Linked DNA regions of Homo sapiens: all the other regions are linked to region 2. The links are contacts of gene promoters, found by promoter capture Hi-C in blood cells and fetal thymus (Javierre and others, 2016). All regions are on one chromosome and are shown on one strand. Each heading gives the region's core, a stretch centred on a gene start or on the middle of the fragment in contact. The rest is flanking DNA. Distances are from core to core; before and after follow the strand shown.

Region 1 (2,700 bases), core at 110-2,609, 4.7 Mb after region 2:
GAACATCACCTATACTGGGAGAAACCGATGCCATCTGTACCTTGATATCATGCACTGGAAAAGACACATCGCTTTAGTGGTGTTTCTCCAAAAATTCATAACCTGAAAGGGAACATCAAACTTACTTTGAAGGATATTCCACACAATACCTGGTCTGTATTCTTAAATAATGTCTAGTTCAATAAACATAAAAGCCAAGGACGGTTCCAGATCAAAGAAGACTAATGGAGGAATAACTCTTTCATCTGGAATGTTTTTTAAGCAAGAAATACCTGCTTTCGAATTTAAGAGTGCAGATCCTTTTTTTATCCAATTGGTTCGGAGATATAATTACATTATTTTACCACATCTCCTTAAGGCTTTGATCCCTGCTACAATCTACAATATATAAATGCATATGTGTGGCATCCGTCTTATCATCAATTTAGGTGACCAGTAGAAGAAAAGTGCCTGGTGCCAATTTTTATTCCATAGTATAAAATAGTCTCTCAGGACAGGGTTTTTGGTGAGAGAAGCACAGGATGTTGCTGGGTGACTGAGACTGGGTCAGGAAATAGGGAGGCAGAGGGCAACAGTTTCTCTAGAATTTAAAATTTGGTTGCTTTTGGAAGAGAAAGCAAGAGATTCCTGGAAGCCAGAACGTCATGTTTCACAAATGTAAAAGTCCTAGTTGGGAAAGACACATCGCTTTAGTGGTGTTTTCAAATGACTTTTAAAATAGTAGGGTTTTACTTGTAGGTTCTAGCTACAAGTAAAAAGGCTAAAAGCCAGCCTTAGAAACCTGTCAAAAAAGATTTCCAGCAGGGCGCTGGGGAAACGCAGACCGCGCCGGAATCCCCGCCTGGAGAAGCTCTTAATAGGGCGGGAAACTGCGTGCCCCACAAGGTCCCTCAGAGGCACATTGTGGAGACGGGCTCAGGGTAGCAACTTCTGGCGAGTGGAGCGGCTATTACACAAGCGAAACATTCGGAAGCAATTTACTTCCAGCTTTCGCAACACCCACCCTGAGCCACCACCCTCCCTTACACAGTCACGCCACAAACTTCCCCACTTCCGCCCACAGCCCTCTGGGCTTCGACCCATCAACTGAGCTTGCGCCAAGTCTACTGCGCACGCGCCAACTTCGGCCCAATCAGCGTCCCAAACCGTGGGGTGGACGCCACCGGGATAAACTATCCTCAGCGTGGGGCGGGGTCTCGAAGCCGAATAACGAACGTGATTAGCCAGCCTCTTCCACAGACTTTTAAGGGCGGAGCCTGGCCCTGGAGACACGTCTGGAGAGCTGTTCTCCTAATATGGGTAGGGTCGGGCGTGGAGCTGGCAGCGGCGCTGTGTGCGCCTGCGCGGGGCGCCGAGACAGGGCGTGTTCGCTGTTCAGTGCCGGTGTTGCAGGGAGTGAGGGCAGCTGGAGTGCGTTCTGCCGAAGCTTGTGGTTGCACGCCCATCGTCTTAGGGGCTACCTTCCGTGGTGAGTGTGTGCGGTGTTGCACTTGGGGTTGCTTCTCGCTGCGTGGCCGCAGCGGGGCTGAACCCTTCCCACTCCATCCCCTCCCCGCACCCGGACCAGCCCCTGGGACGCCCTCGGACGCCCACCCGCTCCAACCCTGGGGAAGCCTCAGAGTGGCAGCGAAGGCCTCTTGCCTTTCCGCCTCTGCGCTTGCTGTCATCGCCCACGTGCTTTGTTGTTGTTCGGTGCAGACCATGTCCAAGTCTCTGAAGAAGTTGGTGGAGGAGAGCCGGGAGAAGAACCAGCCCGAGGTGGACATGAGTGACCGGGGCATCTCCAACATGCTGGATGTCAACGGCCTCTGTGAGTTCTCGGGCAGGACTCTCCCGTGGATGAGCTGGAAGGCTTTCTAAGTTTGCCAATTCACTGCTGGTCCTGCTGTGAGCGATTGTACTGGTTTAGACCCCAGCCCCTGCTTGTAAACCTCACTTGTCAGGGGCTTCGCGCAGAGGGTTTGCAGTAGGATTTGTTCTGTTCCACCTGGAAAACGATCCTGAGAGTCCACGATGAGAATCACACAGACAGCTGTGCCTCATCGGTTGTCTCTGCTGTATGGCATTGAGGTGGATTTTCCACAGTTTGCTTAATAGTCACTTTAATTATAAATTGAAAATTAATTTTGAGTCCTTCTTCCTGTCTCCTAATACAGTCTTTGTCCATGAACAAATGACACAGAAAAGTTCCATGGTTAATAAGCATTCTTGTGCCTGGAGCGTTTTAAGCATTTCTTGAATCTTTACATTCTTCTGAGTATTTATTCTCCGAACTTGGTTCAGGCTTTTGTCACCTCCTCATGCTGTGGTGAAATCCTCCTAACTTGCCCTCTTGCCTTCAGTTTCACTGCCCAGTTTAATCACTGGGTCACTTTCAGTGTCATTTTCCTGTAACCCCTGTCTATGGTGTTACCCTCTCCCTTAAAACCAGGGATTGCAGATTCACATGCCTCCAAGTGAGGGCGGTCAGGGGCGGTTATGAACTAGGTGATAGGTGTCCCACTTGAAGGGGCCAGCTGCTGCACCTGCTACTCAGACACATGTCACCATAGGAATGTTGGCCCAATGTGCCAGATTATTTTCTTAAAGGAACCAAGATTCTATATTTTTATGTGAAATTTGCTAATTTTTAGATGTTGGCTACTAATTCTAATATTTGAAAAACCTGTGATAAGTGAGCTAAAGCAGTTCTTCAGGCTG
Region 2 (2,799 bases), core at 166-2,665:
AGTCGGCCACTTCAAAGGCCAGAAAAGTATCTTACTAGTGTCCTCGGCCTTCTTGTATATCCAAAAACCTCATCAATTGTTAACAACCAGAAATAAACTAAGAGGCTCCCCAAAAGTGACTTGGCACCGCCACCTCTTCAGCCACCTAGGCTGGTGGTGGCCTGCCGCGGCCACCCCACAGGCGCTGCAGCAGCCCCGCCACTCCCGCATGGTCAGCAACGGACTCCGCCATCTCCTCCGCAGACAGCTACCGGGCGGCGGCGGCAGGGCCCGAGCCTTCTGGCTCGGGGTGCAACGGGCCCCGCATCCCTCCCCATCTAAAGAGGCAAGGCGACCCCCAGCCTCCCCACACTGGCGCCGCGTTCCCGAGCCCGTCTCCACGCCACAGGAAGTCTCCAAACACTGCGGCAGACAGGCGGCTGCAGGCCAGGGGAGAAGAGGGCGCTCCACTCTCCCAAACCCACCCCCGTGGCCCCGGGAACCCCGGGAAGGGCGCGCACCGCCCCCGCCCCCGCCCCCGCCCCCACCCCGGCCCAGATCTCGAGGGCGCGGCCGCCGCCCTGCCCCGCCCCGCCCCGCCGAGTCAGCAGACCCCGGCCCCAGGCGCAGGCGGCGGCCGAATGACACTTGAGAGAGTGAGAGCGGAATCACATGACAGTCCGGGCCACACGCACTTTCTCCCACATGCGCGGCCCACACCCCCCGCGCCCCGCCGCGGACCCTCCGCGTCCCTCCCGCGGCCGCGGCACGGGGCGGGGGCGCCGGCGGTTGCGGCCCAGGTGGGGGCGGCGGTGACCGTTGGGCGCAGGCCGGCGCGCCCCGGCGGGCGGTTGGGTGTTTACCTTGATGCACCGCGACGCTGCAGCCGTGCCCGTCGCAATAAACCAGCGGGTTCTCGGCCCAGCCTCTCTCGTCTGAGCAAACGCAACAGCCTCCAATCATCTCCTTCATACTATGGGAGACCTCGTCCTCCAGTGACACGGGCCGGTCGCTAGAGACCATCTAAGAGGGAGTTGGGGGGACCATTAAAAAACACATGCAAGCCGATTAGTGCTTCCCCCCCACACAGCCCCCCGAGCCCGCCCCGGCGCCCCCCGCCCGGCCCGGCAGCCCACCGCTCGCTCACTCGGGCTTTGCCGCTCAGTCACTCACGTTCCGCACAGGAGTCAGGAGCCATGTCCTTGCTGATTCCCCCCACCTCCCCTCCACCGCCTCCTCCGCCTCCTCCTCCTCCTCAGCGTCTTCCCTCCCCACCTCCACCCGGCCGCTAACGCGGGCGCCCGGAGAGGGCACACATAATCAAGAGGGCCTCCGCACAGGCGCACTGGGGGGAGGGGGGGCTCCCGCTGGGCCAGGGGCAGCGAGGGAGGGGAAGGGGGCTGCGCTTCCTCCTCGGAGCGTCACTTGGCGTGCGCGCCCGTCCTGCGGCCGGCGTGAGGGAGGAGGCCTGGGCGAGGCTAGCCCTGCGTGCGCGCTGCCGCGGCCTGTTGGCTGCCCCCGGCCTACCTCCGGGGCCCCGTCCCCCTCCCCCGCGCCGCTCGCCGCCGCCGAGGTGTGCTGGGGGTGGGCGCGAGGGGAGCCGGCGGCGCGCGGAGGCCGGAATGAACGGGCGCGGGGGCGCGCACGCGGGGGCGGGGACGTTAGGGCCGCCCTCTGCAGCGCTGGTGGCGCGGGCCGCGTGTGAGCGTCGGGAAGAGGCCTGGGAGGTGGCGGGGGAGGTGGACGCCCAGGGCTGGGAAGGGGTTTTCTCAGAATCGCCAGAGGGGAGTCCCCGGGGGCATCATCTCCGTGCCCTGGGAACCTACCTGCTGGCCTTTTCCTCCAAGACTGGCCCGTGGAAAACGAGGGTGGGGCGAGTGTGCCAGCTTCCATGAAGGGTGTAATGAAGCATGGCTTCCTGCAGTTGGCCGCGCTAACTTCACAGTGCTGCCGCAGCCACTCCACCCATTAAATTCACGTCCTGGACTCTTCCCAAAGTTCACCCGCTGGAAGTCCTACCAAATCTGCCGCCCATTTTCGCACTACGTGGGCCCCAATGACAAACGAAAGTGTATTCCAGGCTGAAGGTCAAAAGCCTGTGTTAGGGCTGCACTCGGAGAGGGAACGCCAAGGCGCCCCTCAGCTCGGTGTGCAGGACAAATGGTGGTTTATCCGGAATTAGCAATATAATACGATGATCCGGAAAATGCAGTTGTATTACACCAAAAGGAAGAAGGAACTCTAGCCCTCCTAGTCAGTCGCTAAAACATAATTAACGCCATCAGACAGTGGCGTCCAGTTTTGATGGAGGATTCCTCTGATCCGGGTCTTTTCTCCAAATTTATACTTGGAAATGTGAGGTCATTTAAAAGTGGCAGAAAGATGAGAGCTCCCACCTCACAAACAAATGGAAAATGGATTAGGCCTATCTGCATAGATTAATTAGCTGGATGCTGAGCACTTTTAAACTAAAATCTTCCACTGTCTGCCTATTCCTTATGCATCCGTAAAGCCCAATATTGATGTTTAAGCAAAAAATGTCTAATTAGAAAAGTTTCGCATGAAATCAGAATTATGCATAGATTGTTTAAATGACAAGCCCAGTTAAAAGGCGAATTCATGACTTTTGATTAATACCTTGCAGGTACAAAATGGTTCTTTATCAGCAATTCGCATTATAAATGTGCTGATCTGGAAGATGCACTTTCACAGTGCTAAAGCATAGAGAACCCAAGTTCTCCTAGTCGGTCGCCAAAAGATAATATAATGGTTTGGGCTTTAAAAGCCTTCTAAATGTTCTTCTGATAAAGGGGGGTTAGA
Region 3 (2,812 bases), core at 69-2,568, 3.9 Mb after region 2:
CCAACACTTTGGGAGGCCGAAGTGGGCAGATCATTTGAGCCCAGGAGTTCAAGACCAGCCTGGGCAACATGACGAAACCTCTCCTCTACAAAAAAAATACAAAAATTAGCTGAACATACTCAGGAGGCTGAGATAGGAGGATCACTCAAACCCGGGAGGTGGAGGTTGCAGTGAACCAAGATTGCACCACTGCACTCCAGCCTGGGCGACAGAGCAAGACCAAAAAAAGAAGAAATGGACAGGTCAGGTAGGCAGAAAATCAGAAAGGACATAGTTGAACTCAACAACACCATCAATCAACTGTATATAATTGACAATTGACATTTATAGACTACTTCATCCAAAAACAACAGAATACACATTCTTCCCAAGCTCTCATGCAGCATTCACCAAGACAGACCACCTTCTGGGTCATAAAACAAACCAAGACAAATCTAAAACAATAGAAATCACATAGTGATTACAATGGAATAAACTAGAAATCAATAACAGAAAGATAGCTGGAAAATCCCAAAGTACATGGAGACTAACACACTTTTAAACAAGAGTAAAAAAAAAACTTAAAAGAAATTTTAAAATACTTTGAACTAAGTGAAAATACAACTTCGCAAAATTTGTGGGATGCAACAAAAGCAGTGGTTAGAGGGAAATTTATAGCATTGAATACATATTTTTAAAAAGAATCAAGATCTAAAATCAATAAGCTTCTACCTTAGGAAACTAGAAGAGCAAATTAAATCCAAACTAAGCAAGCAGAAGAAAACAAACAACAAAAATTAGAGCAGAAACCAATGAATCTGAACATAAGACCAATACAGAAAATCAGCACAACCAAAAGCTGGTTATTTTAAAAGATCAATAAAACCGATATGCTGCTAGCCAAGCTAAACTAAGGAAAAAAAAAAAAGAGAGAGAAAACACCAATTACTAATATCAGAAATGAAAGAAGGGACATCACTACAAACCCCATGGACATTAAAAAGAAAATGAAGGAATATTATGAACAACTCTATGCCCACAAAATTGATAACCTAGATGAAATGGACCAATGCCTTGAAAGACATAATCTGCTGAAATACATACAAGAAACAGACAATCTAAATGGCCCACATCTATTTAAAAAACTGAATCAATAATTAATAATCTTCTAAAACAGAAAGCACAGGCCCAGATGGGTTCACTGGTGAATTTTACCAAATATTTAAGGAAGAAATTATACTAATTCTGTGTAATCTCTTGCAGTATATAGAAGCAGAGGAGATACTTCCTAACTCATTCTGTGAGGCCAGCATTACTCTGATACCAAAACCAGACAAAAACATTACAAGAAAACTATAGGCCAATATCTCTCATGAACATAAATGCAAAAATCCTCAACAAAATGTTACAGGTAGTAAGACAGGTACGAGCAGGGCAGGAGAGGGTTCTCCCACACCCACTAGGAATGTTGGGTGATTCAGCAATTATCACATTGCCTCTCTAAAAGTGATAAATTGGCAGCTTGCACCAAGGAGAGAGAAGCTCCTAACAGTCCACAAGTGTTAAACATTAAAGTGTTAAATGAATGCAGGCACCAGGGAGAAGCAAAAAAGGGGGCTCCAATAAAATCTCAGGCACTGAGTGAGTGAGCCCAGGCAGGGGCATTAAGAGACAAAATGGCAGTATACGACCTTCCTGGGGCACTCCACCAGAAAAGGGAAAAAAGCCTCCGATGGGCATGCATACAACTTTCTAAACACACTGTGCATGCTCACCTCCCAAGTATAAGGAGGGCACTGCGCATGTGGGCCGCCCACTCTAAGGGAAGAATCACAGGAAAGGGGCCAACCTATAGAGTCCTGGGATCAAAGTTAAAAACCGCACTTACTCTTCAAGTCACCCACTTGGATTTCTTCCAAGGGCACTTTCCTTTCTTTCCTGCTGTAAAGCTTTTTAATAAACTTCCACTCCTGCTCTGAAACTTGCTTCATCTCTTTTTCTGCCTTACGCCCCTTAGATGAATTCTTTCTTCTGAGGAGGCAAGAACTGAGATTGGTGCAGACCCATACAGACTCACTGCCAGTAACTCAGATACCTTCCACCGATTACAAAAACATCAGCAAACTGAATCCAACAATGTATAAAAAGAATTACATATGCCATGACCAATTAAGATTCATCCCAGGTATGCAAGGCTGATTCAACATTTGTACCGTTACCCTCCAAGAAATCAGAAGACTCTTTTCTGGGGGCTCTATGTCAGCCCAAGAGGAAAGACCTAAAGACAGTAATATTGCAGGGGGAGGAGTGGAGAGGCAGAATTCCATAGTCAATGGCCCACCAGACCAACCTACAGTGAAGTTAAAAGTCAATGAGACCTAACCACATGATCAGAACTTCCAATGTGCTTTTGATTTCTCCAGTATTAGCCATGGGCAAACAAGCAAGCTATCTGAAACTATCTTTTTTTTTTTTTTTTTTTTTAAGACGGAGTCTCGCTCTGTCACCCAGGCTGGAGTGCAGTGGTGCGATCTCGGCTCACTGCAACCTCCACCTCCCAGGTCCAAGCAATTCTCCTGCCTCAGCCTCCTGAGTAGCTGGGACTACAGGCACATGCCACAACGTCCAGCTAATTTTTTTGTATTTTTAGTAGAGACGGGTTTCACTGTGTTAGCCAGGATGGTCTCAATCTCCTGACCTGGTGACTCACCCACCTTGGCCTCCCAAAGTGCTGGGATTGCAGGCGTGAGGAAACTACCTTCTAATGTGGAAGATAAAGAAAAAGACCAAAAAAAGAAAAAGAAAAAAGCAACTTAAGAGAAAAAGAATACAC

Evidence for each region. The method cuts DNA at HindIII sites, captures the fragments that hold promoters and counts their contacts. A CHiCAGO score of 5 or more calls a contact.
Region 1: a contact is called between the fragment with the promoter of RSU1 here and the fragment with the promoter of MLLT10 in region 2, in 2 of 17 cell types (fetal thymus and total CD4 T cells). The highest score is 5.7, in fetal thymus.
Region 3: a contact is called between a fragment that was not itself captured here and the fragment with the promoter of MLLT10 in region 2, in 1 of 17 cell types (erythroblasts). The highest score is 6.5, in erythroblasts.

What each region holds. Positions count from the first base shown.
Region 1 is chr10:16,816,083-16,818,782 of GRCh38, reverse strand. It overlaps RSU1 (Ras suppressor protein 1), which reads left to right and starts at 1,359. Exons shown (of 9, transcript NM_012425.4): 1 at 1,359-1,468; 2 at 1,699-1,810. The coding sequence starts at 1,702. It overlaps LOC105376435 (a long non-coding RNA gene), which reads right to left and starts at 1,084. Exons shown (of 3, transcript XR_930708.3): 1 at 1,027-1,084; 2 at 41-102. RefSeq lists enhancers at 741-790, 821-910, 941-1,050, 1,721-1,880. The HindIII fragment of the contact is 3,392 bases long and covers 1-1,428 here.
Region 2 is chr10:21,532,848-21,535,646 of GRCh38, reverse strand. It overlaps MLLT10 (MLLT10 histone lysine methyltransferase DOT1L cofactor), which reads right to left and starts at 1,415. Exons shown (of 23, transcript NM_001195626.3): 1 at 1,127-1,415; 2 at 843-1,002. The coding sequence starts at 1,002. RefSeq lists enhancers at 1-417, 1,133-1,846 and silencers at 478-567, 708-1,047, 1,158-1,227, 1,238-1,767. The HindIII fragment of the contact is 10,036 bases long and covers 1-2,799 here.
Region 3 is chr10:17,655,945-17,658,756 of GRCh38, reverse strand. The region is part of intron 1 of STAM (signal transducing adaptor molecule); the gene reads right to left. Among named protein-coding and RNA genes, the nearest start is that of STAM, 13 kb to the right of the region's middle. The HindIII fragment of the contact is 1,224 bases long and covers 707-1,930 here.